3 separate regions of the Homo sapiens genome follow, and all the other regions are linked to region 1. The links are contacts of gene promoters, found by promoter capture Hi-C in human tissues and cell types (Jung and others, 2019). All regions are on one chromosome and are shown on one strand. The core of a region is centred on a gene start or on the middle of the fragment in contact, and the rest is flanking DNA. Distances in the headings are between cores, read along the strand shown. Region 1 holds the start of LLGL2 (LLGL scribble cell polarity complex component 2). Region 2 overlaps ATP5PD (ATP synthase peripheral stalk subunit d). Region 3 overlaps KCTD2 (potassium channel tetramerization domain containing 2).

The links. Contacts are between HindIII fragments. The study calls those that stand out against the background at their distance.
Region 2: a fragment that was not itself captured here is called in contact with the fragment with the promoter of LLGL2 in region 1 in 2 of the 25 tissues and cell types used here (IMR-90 fibroblasts and dorsolateral prefrontal cortex).
Region 3: a contact is called between a fragment that was not itself captured here and the fragment with the promoter of LLGL2 in region 1, in 1 of the 25 tissues and cell types used here (pancreas).

Annotation. Positions count from the first base shown.
Region 1 is chr17:75,523,758-75,528,438 of GRCh38, reverse strand. It overlaps LLGL2 (LLGL scribble cell polarity complex component 2), which reads right to left and starts at 2,742. Exons shown (of 26, transcript NM_001031803.2): 1 at 2,614-2,742. It overlaps TSEN54 (tRNA splicing endonuclease subunit 54), which reads right to left. Exons shown (of 11, transcript NM_207346.3): 10 at 4,660-4,681; 11 at 3,704-4,177. The coding sequence ends at 4,027. RefSeq lists silencers at 3,036-3,220, 2,537-3,256, 3,277-3,376. The HindIII fragment of the contact is 8,139 bases long and covers 1-4,681 here.
Region 2 is chr17:75,039,558-75,044,238 of GRCh38, reverse strand. It overlaps ATP5PD (ATP synthase peripheral stalk subunit d), which reads left to right. Exons shown (of 6, transcript NM_006356.3): 2 at 1,580-1,710; 3 at 1,962-2,058; 4 at 4,076-4,147. The coding sequence starts at 1,589. It also overlaps a transcript of KCTD2 not described here and the pseudogene RN7SL573P. Among named protein-coding and RNA genes, the nearest start is that of ATP5PD, 5.1 kb to the left of the region's middle. RefSeq lists an enhancer at 2,402-2,972. The HindIII fragment of the contact is 3,720 bases long and covers 803-4,522 here.
Region 3 is chr17:75,055,868-75,060,548 of GRCh38, reverse strand. It overlaps KCTD2 (potassium channel tetramerization domain containing 2), which reads right to left. Exons shown (of 6, transcript NM_015353.3): 4 at 944-1,039. Among named protein-coding and RNA genes, the nearest start is that of KCTD2, 11 kb to the right of the region's middle. The HindIII fragment of the contact is 3,987 bases long and covers 861-4,681 here.

The DNA of each region.
Region 1 (4,681 bases), core at 1,493-3,992:
GCGGTATATTAAAAAGTTATTTAAGGCCGGGCGCGGTGGCTTACGCCTGTAATCCCAGCACTTTGGGAGGCTGAGAGGGGCAGATCACGAGGTCAGGAGATCGAGACCATCTTGGCTAACACAGTGAAACCCCATCTCTACTAAAAATACAAAAAATTAGCCGGGCGTGATGGCAGGCGCCTGTGGTCCCAGCTACTCGGGAGGCCGAGGCAGGAGAATGGCGTGAACCCAGGAGGAGGAGCTTGCAGTGAGCCGAGATCTCGCCACTGCACTCCAGCCTGGGTGACAGAGCGAGACTCTGTCTCAAAATAAATAAATAAATAAATAAAAATAATAAAAAGTTATTTATACTAACGGGTCTGGCGTGGCAGTTCATGCCTGTAATCCTAACACTTTGGGAGGCAGGAGGATCACTTGAGCCCAGGAGTTCAAGACTAGCCTGGGCAACATGGCAAAACCCCCTTTCTAAAAAAAAAATAGAAAATTAGCTGTGCATGGTGCTGCGCGCTTGTAGTCCCAGCTACTCAGAAGGCTGAGGTGGGAGGATCACTTGAGCCTGGGAGGTCGAGTCTGCAGTGAGCCTCCATCTCCCAGTGATTGCACCACTGCACTCCAGCCTGGGTGACAGAGCAAGACTCTGCCTCAAAAAAAGAAAAAAAAAAAGTTACTAACAGCTGGGCACAGTGGCTTACACCTGTAATCCCAACGCTTTGGGAGGCTGAAGTGTGAGGGTCACTTGAGTCCAGGAGTTTGAGACCAGCCTGGGCAACATATGGTGAGATCCCATCTCTACAAATTAAAAAACATATTATTAAAGAAAAAAAGAATTTGGTCAACTTAGTTTAAAAAAAAGAAAAAAAAAGAGAAAAAAGTTACTTTTTTCTATTTTATTTCTTATTTATGAATGTAGTGTCATTTTAATATAATTAAAAGCATATTAATCTGACACCAAAGGGGAAACTCCCTTGCCTCAAGGAAGAATGGGGATGCCAAATGACCCTGGACCCCGGAAACCCTGTCCAGGAGCCCCCACAAAGATGGGCCCAGTCTAACTTCAGAGGAAAGGAGTGAACTCTGATTAGAAGCTTAAGAGCTGAGTTTGAGTTCTGTCTGCCACAGCTAGCACTGTGGGAAGATCGCCTAAGAAAACTAAACCCCAAATCCCAGTTCATAAAATAAAGCTGAGACATCTCTCGCACAGTTCTCCTTGTGCCTCTGCTCACACAGACCCAGACAGTTTTCCTCAAATGCCACTTTTTTTTTTTTTTTTTGAGACAGGGTCTCACTCTGTCCCCAGGCTGGAGTGTGGTGGCGCCATCATGACTCACTGCAACCTCCACCTCCTGGGCTCAGGCAATCCTCCCACCTCAGGCTCCTGAGTAGCTGGGACTACAGGTGCACGCCACCATGCCTGGCTAACTTTTTTTATTATTTGCAGAGACGAGGTCTCACTATGTTGCCCAGGCTGGTCTCAAACTCCTGGGCTCAGGCGATCCTCCTGCCTTGGCTTCCCAAAGTGCTGGGATTACAGCTGTGAGCCAATGCACCCAGCCTCAACTGCCACTTCTGACCTTGGCTTCCCCCGGGCTGGGCCACAGCTCTTCTGTGGCAGCTCTGCTCTTCCTACCAGCGTTTCCTTGTCACCTTGACACACCCATTCCCTCCCTGCCCGCTCCCTGCTCAGAATCCTCTCTGTAGCCCCTTCAAGAGAACTCAAGGTTCTCTTGAACTACAAACTCCAGCAGGGGGTCCCTGGAGCCCAGGTTAAGGCTGCCGGCAGTCGCATACGGATCCCCAGGGGAAGGGGCGCCCTCCTCACTCAAAGCTCACCTGTTCAGGTGAGAGCCTCAAAGCGCCACTCTACAGCTCCCCTGGTTAGGTCAGTTCTCCCCACAGCCAAGGCCCAGCGTGTCCACCAATCGTCCAGCCGGAACAAACTAAGACACACTTTCTTTGGCAAGATAGAATTTTCCACTTCTCGCCAAATCCCACAGCGCAAACCCCGCCCGTCAGCATGGAGGGCAGACTGGGTCTCCGCACTGTCATGTGAAGGTGTCCAAAGCCGCCCCAGCTGGAGAAAGGCCGGAGACCGAAGTCCCTCCCGCGGGCTTCCTGCGTCCGGGGATTAGGAGGCACAAAGGGCCGGCAGGGACACAGCCCAGATGGCAGGGGCAGGGGCTAAGCCGCCGGGGCACCGCGCTCCGGCCGCCGCCCGTGGGGAGGGGGTCACCGCAGACGCGCGTCGCCAACCCCGCTGGCCTGGCGCCTGCACGTGGGCCCGGGGACTCCGTCTCTGCCCGCGGTGCCCCCCGCACCCAGCCGGCCGGGGCACCTGTTCTCCTGCTCTCCTAAGCCAACATTATTGTGCAAACCCAAGCCCAAGTTTCAGTCATCGCGCAGATCAGGCAGAGAAGTTTCCCGCAGAACTTTCTACAGGTGTCTCTCTTCCAGGCCAGCACAGCGACGCGGACAGGGGCGAGGCGCGCGGACCTGGGCGCAGCCCTCCCGCCCTGGCCCGACAGCCCAGGGGTCCTGGGCCTCCCTGGCCTCCCCGCCCCAGGTGGAAGCCCCGAGGGGGCGGGCCCGGCTGGGCGAGTCCGGCACGCATCTCACCTGGAACCCCGGGCCAGCCCCCGCCCGAGGCCTCGGCGTCCCTCGGCGCCCGCCGCCGGCCCCGCTCGCTCCGCCGCGCCTGCCCACGGGCTGCTGGGCGGCCGTCTCCTTCCTGCTCACCTCCGGCGCGGCGAGCCTGGGGCGGAGCCGCGCTATTTACATAAAGGGCGAGCCTGCCGGGGCCCAGCGCCCCGCCCCCGGCCCGCCCCCCAGCTCGGCGCCGCAGGGGCGGGGGCACCCTCGGGGGTGGGGGCTGCGCTCCTGCCAATCCGCGGCCCCGGGAAGCGCGGGGCGGGGCCTCGCGAACGGCCTCGGGGTTCCGCAGGCCCGCCCCGGCCTCACCTGCGCGCACCTGGACGCAGAACGGCGCGCCGCGCCCAGTGTCCCGCCGCCTCCCGCAAGCGGAAATAGTTCCCGGAACGCCTGCGGTCCCGGGCCGCCTCCCAGACTCCAGGGGAGCCGTCCCTCCAACTCCCGGGAGCTGCCGAGGGAGGGGCGGATCCGGGCCAGCTCCTCTGCCAGAGCCCAGCCCAGAGAGGGTGACCGGGGGACGCAGGGCCGGGTTTCCAGCCCCACGAGAGGGATGGTGTAGGGACCGGGGCGTCGCGGCGAGACGCCTTTCCTCGGGGGGGGGTGCGGGGGGGCGCCCACCTCCTCCGTGTCGGCCGGAGGGTCTGCAACAGCGGGTGGAATTTTTAGCACAAGCGAGGGAGGAGGTTGGAGCGACGAGAGGCGGGAGCGGAAAGGGCGCGGAGGCCGGGGCTGCAGCGCGCTCCACCGCCCAGCTGCAGGTGGCGCCTCTCGCCACCCGCACCCCGCTGCGCCCAGGGAAGGGCCGATGGCGCGCCGTCCTCCCTCCTCCCTTCGGGAAGCCTGCGACGTCCCATCCCCTCCGACGCAGGCCCGGGAAAGGCTCAAAAGGTTCGAGGTCGCGTTCCTGCTATCCCGCGGGCTTCTCTCACTCTTAGATCCCGCACCAGAGGAAGCGGATCTCCTTGAGTGGGCAAAGCAGGGGTGAGGGGCTGGGGGCAGTTCCACTGACAACGGGACGGGGGCGAGAGGGGTTTACCCAGTACATACAGAAACAGCAGAAAAGAAATCTATTTTTAATGGCTTTGGCTTTATAGCACGAAGCAGGCACCCTCTCGTTAAAGGCACACAGTCCTCTCTTCTGCCCCACCTCCTGGGTCCTTAAAATCGAGTCCTGAGTTCCAGAGGGGTCACTGCAAGGCAGCAGGGAAGGGAGAGGGTCACAGTTTCACTCTGTGAGTATCAGACACCCAGGGCCAAGGCCCAGACTGGCCTCTGAAGCTACAGGTTAGAGTCTGGGTACAGGAGGCAGCCGAGATGGTCCCTGAGAACAGACAGTCCCGGTCCCCCGGAGCAAGCTCCATCCTCTGCAGAGCTGTGAGGTCAGTGCCCCACATCCTGGGGCAACGTGAAGTCCCTGAAGCTGTAGAAGGAGATGTCACCATGATCCACCAGGGCAAAGATCAGAGGGACATCCCCACTCTGGTAAGACAACCGCTTGAGGCTGCAGAGGTCTGGGACAGGCTCATCAAATCTGCAGGGACAAAGGGTTAGAGTGAGACCCAGCCATAGCCCACTCCTAAGCTCTAGGGCTCCCAGAGAAGAGATTCTACGGAAGGAGTTGGGGTGCAAGAATTCTGACCCATGAGTTCTGTCTCCAAAACACAGGGCTCTGATGAAGAGCGCCCCAGAGCACTGGTTGGGGAGGTGCTAGGAAGAGCAAGGTGCTCACCACTCTTAGCCTGTAAATCCCCACAATCCACATCCCTTCTGCTGGGTGAGTCCTAGACTAAAATGGCATTGGAGAAAGACTACCCTAAAATGCCAGCAACGAGGAGCTCAGAGTAGGGCAGCACAAACTGGCTGTGTGGCCTTGTGTAGGTCACTTAGCCTCTCTGGACCTCCTGTTCCTCTCAGAGATTGGCACGCTGGCCAGGGGAGTACAGAGGAGTCCCACTTGGTTCACAGGAGAACTGGCAGCAGCTGGGGGAGGGGCAGTGCTGGCTCACTGCGTACCCACTAATGCACATCCGGGCAT
Region 2 (4,681 bases), core at 1,413-3,912, 480 kb after region 1:
CGACAGAGCGAGACTCCGTCTCAAAAAAAAAAAAAAAAATACAAAAATTAGCTGGGTGTGGTGGTGGGTGCCTGTAATCCCAGCTACTCCGGAGGCTGAGGCAGGAGAATCGCTTGAGCCTGGGAGGTGGAGGTTGCAGTGAGCCAAGATGATGCCACTGCACTCCAGCCCGGGGGACAGAGTGAAACTCCATCTCAAAAAAAAAAAAAAAAAAAGTGCACAACGTGTGCTGGTGCTGCTAGGGTATAATCCGATGTGAATAAGAAGGTGCAGGTGTATTACCAATCTAGTTGGAAGGGGATAGCCCTTTTAAGTTTGTAAAACTCTGGAGCAAGTTGCTGTGCACAATTTCATGTGACACTTTTAGCAGCCCTCTGGGGCAAGCAGGACTGATAATGCCCATTGTACACATAAGTAAATTTTAGCCTAGAGAGTGCTCTATTTAAGGCTTGTTGAAACTTAGGTGTGTGTCAGTTTCTGTCTACTGGAGAATCAGTGAATAAAACACAATCTGGGTGGAAATGTCTTTATTAACTTTTATGCAATAAGAGTGTTATTTTTAGTAATTTTTCCAGAGGCACATGGAGGGGATAAAGAGAGCTGGGGTTTGTTTTTTTTTTTTTTTTTGAGACAGAGTCTCACTCTGTGTCCAGGCTGGAGTGCAATGGCGCTATCTCAGCTCACTGCAACCTCCGCCGCCCAGGTTCAAGTGATTGTCCTGTCTAAGCCTCTTGAGTACCTGGGACTACAGGTGCATGCCATCACGCCCGGCTAATTTTTGTATTTTTTAGTAGAGGCAGGGTTTCACCCTATTGCTCAGGCTGGTCTTGAACTCCTGACCTCAAGTGATCCACCCACCTCAGCCTCCCAAAGTGCTGGGATTACAGAAATGAGCCACTGCGCCCGGCCAAGAGAGCTGGGCTTTTAAGGCTAAATAGGAGTTGGGAGAGAATGTATTTGTATGCCACATTGCACACTTTGAATTTGAAAAGCTACACTGTCCTTTCCTTTTCTTTTTGAGACGGACTCTTGCTGTGTTGCCCAGGCTAGGGTGCACTGATGCCATCTCAGCTCATTACAACCTCTGCCTCCTGGGTTCAAGTGATTCTTATGCCTCAGCCTCTGGAGTAGCTGGGATTATGGCGCGGGCCACCACGGCTGGCTAATTATTGTATTTTTAATAGAGATGGGGTTTTGCCATGTTGGCCATGCTGGTCTCGAACTCCTGACCTCAGGTGATCCAACCGTCTTGGCCTCCCAAAGTGCTGGGATTACAGGCGTGAGCCCACTGCGCCTGGCCGCACACCTTGAATTACCTTGAATTTGAAAAGCTACACTGTCTTTTTTTCTTTTTTTTTGAGTTGGAGTCTTGCTGTGTCTCCCAGGCTGGAGTGCAGTGATGCAGTCTCGACTCACTGCAACCTCCACCTCCTGGGTTCAAGTGATTCTTGTGAAGACTTGCATGTTTCTAAGATTTAAAGGATTCTCTCTAAGAGCTCTTATTTTGTTATTTATCATTTTTCCCAACTGAAAATTCACCTCATAAAAAAGCCTTGTTTTTATTTGACTTATTTTTCAGGATCCCAAAATGGCTGGGCGAAAACTTGCTCTAAAAACCATTGACTGGGTAGCTTTTGCAGAGATCATACCCCAGAACCAAAAGGCCATTGCTAGTTCCCTGAAATCCTGGAATGAGACCCTCACCTCCAGGTCAGTATGTTTCTGAGAGGGAACCCCATACTTGCCACTGAATCTAGAAACAAAACAGTATTAAGGAATTACATATGAATTCTTGATGCCCTTATGACAACATATAAAGAAATCCTTGCATTTTCATGATGATCTTAGGAGAGGAAAGTGTGGTGACCCTCCAGGCCATAGGAAGAAGGGATAGGAAAATTACCATGTGAATTTTCTACTGCTTATGAACAATCCTAACTTTTGCCTTTCCTTGTGGGCAGGTTGGCTGCTTTACCTGAGAATCCACCAGCTATCGACTGGGCTTACTACAAGGCCAATGTGGCCAAGGCTGGCTTGGTGGATGACTTTGAGAAGAAGGTGAGACTTCACACCTCTAAAGCACTGAGCTTGTAACATGCCTGTGGGTAGGGAGCAGGAACAGGGATAATTACATACACAGCATGACAGCCAGATCCCTAAGGAAGCTTAGGAAGGATGCGTATGGCCAAAGGCCTTGTGGTCGATTGAACTGTAAATAGGTGCAGGAATTTAGGCTCTGTTCATTCAGCAGTAGAGTGTAGCCTTAATCTGGGAGCCAGAGGGCTTTCTGATCAGCACAGGAGTTTTGACCTGCTCTGTTTCTGACCTGGGCCGGTTCACCCCTTCTTAGGCAACCTGGTGGTCCCCCGCTCCTGGGAGGTCACCATATTGATGCTGAACTTGGTGAAGACACCCGATCGGCATAACGCGCTACAGCCCAGAACTCTTGGGCTCAAGCAATCCACGTGCCTCAGCCAGGCATGCGCCACCACGCCCCAGGGGGCTTTCAAGTTAAATGTTTGCCCACCTCCTGGGTTCCTTTTAGCTTCCTTCCTGTCTCCCTTTGGAACAAACTGACTTTTTTTCTACTCTTTTCCTGTCCTTTTTCTTTTGAGACGGAGTTTTGCTCTGTCACCCAGGGTGGAGTGCAGTGGCGCAATCTCAGCTTACTGCAGCCTCTGCCTCCCAAGCTCAAGCCATCCTTCTGTCTTAGCCTCCTGAGTAGCTGGGACTACAGGTGCATGCCACCACCACACCTGATAAATTTTCGTTTTGTTTTTTTTTTTTTTTTGGTAGAGACAGGTTTTTGTCATATTGCTCAGGCTGGTCTCAAACTCTGGGCTCAGGCAATCCACCTCTCTGCTCTTCTTTTTTTTTTTTTTTTGAGTTGGAGTCTCACTCTGTCACTCAGGTTGGAGTGCAGTGGCGCCATCTCAGCTCACTGCAACCTCTTTCTCCCGGGCTCAAGCCTTCCTCCCACCTCATCCCCCCGAGTAACTGGGACCACAGCACCACCATGCCTGGCTAATTTTTTGTATTTTTGGTAGAGACGGGGTTTCGCCATGTTGCCCAGACTGGTCTCGAACTCCTGAGCTCAGGTGATCCACCCTCCTTGGCCTCCCAAAGTGCTGGGAGTACAGGTGTGAGCCACCATGCCCAGCCTCTGCTTTTTTTAACTGTCCCTTATAGCTGTAATTTCTCATCCATCTATCCTCCTCTGATATTTACACAAGTCTCAATATCCAGAGTTCATTTGCTTATTCATTCAAAGATGTGTATGGAGGGCCTACTCTGTGCCAGGTAGTGTTAAGTGCTGGAGCCATAACACTAAGCAGTCTTTTTTTTTTTTTTTTGAGACGGAGTCTTGCTCTGTCGCCCAGGCTGGAGTGCAGTGGGGCCATCTCAGCTCACTGCAATCTCCGCCTCCCAGGTTCAAGCAGTTCTCTTGCCTCAGCCTCCCATGTAGCTGGGACTACAGGTGCTGGCCACCTTGCACAGCTAATTTTTGTATTTTTAGTAGAGACGGGGTTTCACCATGTTGGTCAGGCTGGTCTCGAACTCCCGACCTTAGGTGATCCGCCCGCCTCAGCCTCCCAAAGTGCTGGGATTACAGGCATGAGCCACCGCACCCGGCTAACACTAAGCAGTCTTCTAAGGAGACCATTCATTACGCAGTGCTCCTTCCACCAGTCAGCTCCCTAGGGTTCCATGCAGAAGAGAAATCAGAATTTCTTTACAATTCAAGGTGCTAAGAGGCCATTTTTTGGTCATCAAGTCCAGCTGTCCTTTTCAGATGAAGAAAATGAAGCTTATCATCATAAAGAATTGTCCAGGGTTCCGAGTTAGTGATAGGGCTGAGAAGACCCTTGAGCTCCTGTTCCCAGTCTAATATTCTTTCTACTCCAGTATTGAGATGCGTATTCGTTTCCGCTTGGGACACAGAATGTCTTTCAGTATGACCTTTAAGGATTCGTAGCTTCCAGCCCTTTGAGCTCCTGGGTGTATTGGCGACGACTCACTGTCCTTGTGTTTGTAGTTTAATGCGCTGAAGGTTCCCGTGCCCTTGTGTTTGTAGTTTAATGCGCTGAAGGTTCCCGTGCCAGAGGATAAATATACTGCCCAGGTGGATGCCGAAGAAAAAGAAGATGTAAGTAGTTGAGGCTCCTGCTTATTCTAAAATTCTCTTGATCTTGACAGCTCTCTATTATAGCTAAGTTAAGTTAGAGTGAATTAAATGGAAGAGTTAACAGCCATATAAAGGAATGACTTGTCAATAAATGCAACAACATGGACGAATTTCAAAATAATTATGCGGAGTGAAAGAAGCCAACAAGAAAAAGAAGAGTATAGCATATGATTCCATCTTTGTAAGACTCTAGAAAATGTAGTTTGTCTACAGTGGCTGCCTGGGGATGGTTGAGAGGGGACTGCTGGTTTCACAGGTGGATACCTATATCAAAACTTATCAAATGGTGTTCTTTAAATATGTGCATTTTATCATATTTCAGATATACCTCAACAAAGCTGTTAGAAACAAGGAGTTGGAATTAGAAAAATTACCCAAGTAGTATTCAAATACCTAATTATTTGCTTGAAAGCACTGAAGGCCAACTATGGAACTCAGTGGCTCCACCAGAGAGAAGTCTGGCTAGGTGCTCAGGTGGCGTGTCCTGACCATTCA
Region 3 (4,681 bases), core at 1,605-4,104, 470 kb after region 1:
AGAAGTGAAAAGGGCATCAAGAGCAGCTGGTCTTGGCTGTCGCGCTGTTGTCTGGTTAGTTCCAACCCTGGTTTCTGAAAGTATCACCTTGGAAGGCTTATGTTAGAGGACTTTTTTGGCTTTTTGAAATTGAAGTGAACCAGTTAATAAGTGGCAGAGGATCACTTGAATGTGAAATAGAAATATCAAGGACTACATTTTTCCAGTGGACACCACAGCTTGTGGGAAGTTAGTGATGTAGCAATGTCTGTTTTAAATGCCATGTCTAAAAGGGATGGAATGAAGAAAGGGATTTGACTTTCCAAAAAAAAAAAAAATTGTATTTACTCTATTCGCTCTGGCCTTCCTATGTTTTGAAGGCAACAGAATTTAACAAGTCTGCCATCTAATGGAGGAGAACAGTGAAGCTCCAACTGTCATAGCTTTGTTTTGATAGCTCAGTCGTAAGCACGAGGCGGAGAGAAGTAGGGGAAACGGCCGCACCACACTTCCCATGGCGCCTGATCCTTCCTAGCACAGCTGTTCACCAAGCTCTTCACGGTGGATTACATAAGACATTCAGAACCAAAAAGTTCTGACCCTGGGAAAAGAAATGGAAGGATTGTTGTCGAATCCCAGTCTCCTTTAGGGACTCATTCTACGATCCCTGTGAGGGAACAAAAACCAAAGGCTTTGAGGCACTTCAAGCCTAAACTGCTCGTTGGCTCCCCTGGAAAGTCTGCGTGTGAAGCTAAGACATGATGCTCCTCTGTTTCCCCAACTCCTCACGCACCACTAGGCCAGCAGTGCCCACCAAATGGCTCTTTGCCCATGTTTTGGAATAGGATCCCACCTGGCCGTAGCCGTCTCCCGTGGTTATTAATTGGCCATCCACACTGATTGTTTGAAGAGCTGCAGACCCCTTGAACGGGGCCTGGGATTGCTGCTCTGTTAAGAGATGTACCTGTTCGAATTTCCAGCCGTCGGACATCGTGGACACCATCTGCGTGAGCTCTTCTTCCTGACACTGCAGGACTCTGTACACGTGCTTCACGGGGCCCTGCAATGACCAGGCGCAGACTGAGAACAGCACCAAGGACACCACAGTTTGCAGCTGCCCCAAGGAGGCTCTTCAAATGAATAAACACTGAAAAGGAGTTTGCTTGGAAATCTTTTCTTGGCAGCCACCCACTATCCCCTTTTACAAATAGTACTGTGGCGTTTCTTTTTTTCCCTTCTCTTTAAAAAATGTTTTTCTTTTTAAGTGACCACAAGCCAGCATACTGTGGCTTTTCAATAAAAACATATCCAAAGAGTGAAAGAATAAAAAAGGTAAAATAATTCTGAACTTCAGAGGGATGAATGCTTGAGCAACTATGCCAACAAACTTAGATTTAATCCATTTCCCCAAGTCAAAAATAAGGTAAAATTATTATTATTTATTATTATTATAATTTTATTTATTTATTTTTGAGACGGAGTCTCGCTCTGTCGCCCAGGCTGGAGTGCAATGGTGCAATCTTGGCTCACTGCAGGCTCTGCCTCCCAGGTTCACGCCATTCTCCTGCCTCAGCCTCCCAAGTAGCTGGGACTACAGGCACCCGCCACCACGCCCGGCTAATTTTTTGTATTTTTTAGTAGAGACGGGGTTTCACTGTGTTAGCCAGGATGGTCTCGATCTCCTGACCTCGTGATCCACCCGCCTCGGCCTCCCAAAGTGCTGGGATTACAGGCATGAGCCACCGCGCCCGGCCTATTTATTATTATTTTTTAAGACACAGTCTCACTCTGTCGCCCAGGCTGGAGTACAGTGGCGCGATCTCAGCTCACTGCAACTCCGCCTCCCCGGTTCAAGCGATTCTCCCGCCTCAGCCTCCCGAATAGCTGGGATTACAGGCGCCTGCCGCTAAGCCTGGCTAATTTTTGTATTTTTAGTAGAGAAGGGGATTCACCATGTTGGCCAGGCTTGGTCTTGAACTCCTGACCTCATGATCCACCTGCCCTGGTCTCCCAAAGTGCTGGGATTACAGGCATGAGCCACCGCACCCAGCCTTATTATTATTTTTGAGATGGAGTCTCGCTCTGTTGCCCAGTCTGGAGTGCAGTGGGGTGATCTTGGCTCACTGCAACCTCCACCTCCCTGGTTCAAGCGATTCTCCTGCCTCAGCCTCCCGAGTAGCTGGGATTACAGGCATGTGCCACTACGCCCAGCTAATTTTTTATTTTTTTTTCCTTTTTTTTTTTTGAGAGAGTCTCGCTCTGTCGCCCAGGCTGGAGTGCAATGGCACCATCTCAGCTCACTGCAATCTCCGCCTCCCGAGTTCAAGCGATTCTCCTGCTTCAGCAGCCTCTTGAATAGCTGGGATTACAGCCGCCCACCACCACGCTTGGCTAAGTTTTGTATTTTTAGTAGAGACGAAGTCTCACCATGTTGGCCAGGCTGGTCTCAAACTCCTGACCTCAGGTGATCCGCCCGCCTTGGGCCCCCAAAGTGCTGGGATTACAGGCATGAGCCACTGTGCCCAGCCAATTTTTTTGGATTTTTAGTGGAGACGGGATTTCGCCATGTTGGCCAGGCTGGTCTTGACCTGAGGCGATCCACCCACCTAGGCCTCCCAAAGTGCTGGGATTACAGGCATGAGCCACTGTGTCCGGCCGACAATGCTGTATTTTTTCTTCTATGTTTTCTTCCAAAAGAGGTATAACGATCGCCGGGTGCAGTGACTCACGCCTATAATCCCAGCACTTTGGGAGACCGAGGTGGGCGGATCATCTGAGGTTGGGAGTTCAAGACCAGCCTGGCCAACATGGTGAAACCCCATCTCTACTAAAAACACAAAAAATTAGCCAGGTGAGGTGGCACGTGCCTGTAATCCCAGCTACTCGGGAGGCTGAGGCGGGAGAACTGCTTGAACCCCGGAGGCAGAAGTTGCAGCGAGCTGAGATCGCGCCATTGCACTCCAGCCTGGGCGACAGAGTAAGACTCTGCCTCGAGGAAAAAAAAAAAAAAAAAAGAGGTATAGCTATCATTAACCAAAGTACTAAGGATTTCAAAGATTTCCTTCCATATTACATATAGTACAAATCCTCTGAAGATTTTAATTGGTTGTAACCACTTATTTTGGAAACCAATTGTATAAGTACAAAATTCAGAGTATCACAAAAGATCTGTGATGTTGGCCACAGCTGTCAAAGTCCCAGGTATTTAAGATGCCATTATACTGCCTCTTTTTTCTCCCTTCCAAAGTAAACCACTTGTGCTCTCAAATGCACCAGGATCAATCACCTACAAAAAATACTATTCTAAGAAATAGGAGTCTGGGTATGGTTGCTCACGCCTGTAATCCCAGCACTTTGGGAGGCTGAGGTTGGTGGCTCGCCTAAGATCAAGAGTTTGAGGCCAGTGTGGCCAACATGGGGATACCCTGTCTCTACTAAAAATACAAAAATTAGCCGGGCGTGGTGGTGCACACCTGTAATCTAGCTACTCGGGAAGCTGAGGCAGGTGAATCGCTGGAACCCAGGAGGCAGAGGTTGCAGTGAGCTGAGATCGCATCACTGCACTCCAGCCTGGTCAACACAGCGAGACTCTGTCTCCAAAAAAAAAAAAAAAAAAAGAAAAAAGAAAAAAAAAGAAACAGAGGAAAGTAGTTAGGTGGCAGCCACTAAGAGCTAAGAGGTCATGAAACCGAAGGTAGGGTTGAGGCCCACATCTTGGGCTTGGCTTGAATCCTGCATGTGTGAGGGGCTACAGGTAAGTTCAAGGAGGTAACATGTTTGAAAATCCACACACAAAAAAATAAAGAAAAATACAAAATGAAACAAAACGAAAATCCACACACAGCCAACTTCATCTTAGAGCCACATACAACAAGTATAAAAGAGGGTGTCTTTGAATAACATCAAATCCATTTTTCAGTTTCACTACATAAAAAGGACAGATGGAAAGATAGTTAACATCAAAAAGGTCTTGACATTCCTAGAACAAAAAAGCTTCCAAAGGGGTATAAATCCACAAGCCTTCAGAATCTAGAAGACTAATTAATTTAATTGCGGTCATCAAACAGAAATCTTATAATGCTCTCCAGGAATTAGCTAATGACGAAGAAGGGAGAATGTTCAGGTACCATGACTTGAATCATTTCAAATTACATAATTCATGGTACTTTAAAATCTATAGTAAGCAATCATTTTTTTAGAATGTGGGAAACTGAGGATAAGGCTAGATTACCAAAATGTCTAAACTATTAAATATCTACAATAGTGAAAGATACCACGTAAAGGTAAGATAGCAAAGAGACTGGTGACACTGGATCACATTCCAAGTGGTAATCTGCAAACCAACTACAAAGCCACCTTTGAACATCAAAAAGGAGCCTTTGAGCTGTCAGCTAGATGGAAGAAAACTAAATGAATAAGCCCTTCTCTTCACTTTTGCAAACTGCTGGAGATAAAGTGGATAAAAGAGTTAATTTTTCATCATTAGTGTCAGTTATTCATCCAAATATTCCAGTTAGAGCCAGAAAACTTTTTTTTTTTGAGATGGAGTCTCACTCTGTTGCCCAGGCTGGGGTGCAGTGGTGCCATCTCAGCTCACTGCAACCTCTGCTATCTTAGTTCAAGCGATTCTCCTGCCTCAGCCTCCCAAGTAGCTGGGATTATAGGCGCCCGCTACCACACTCAGACAATTTTCGTATTTTTA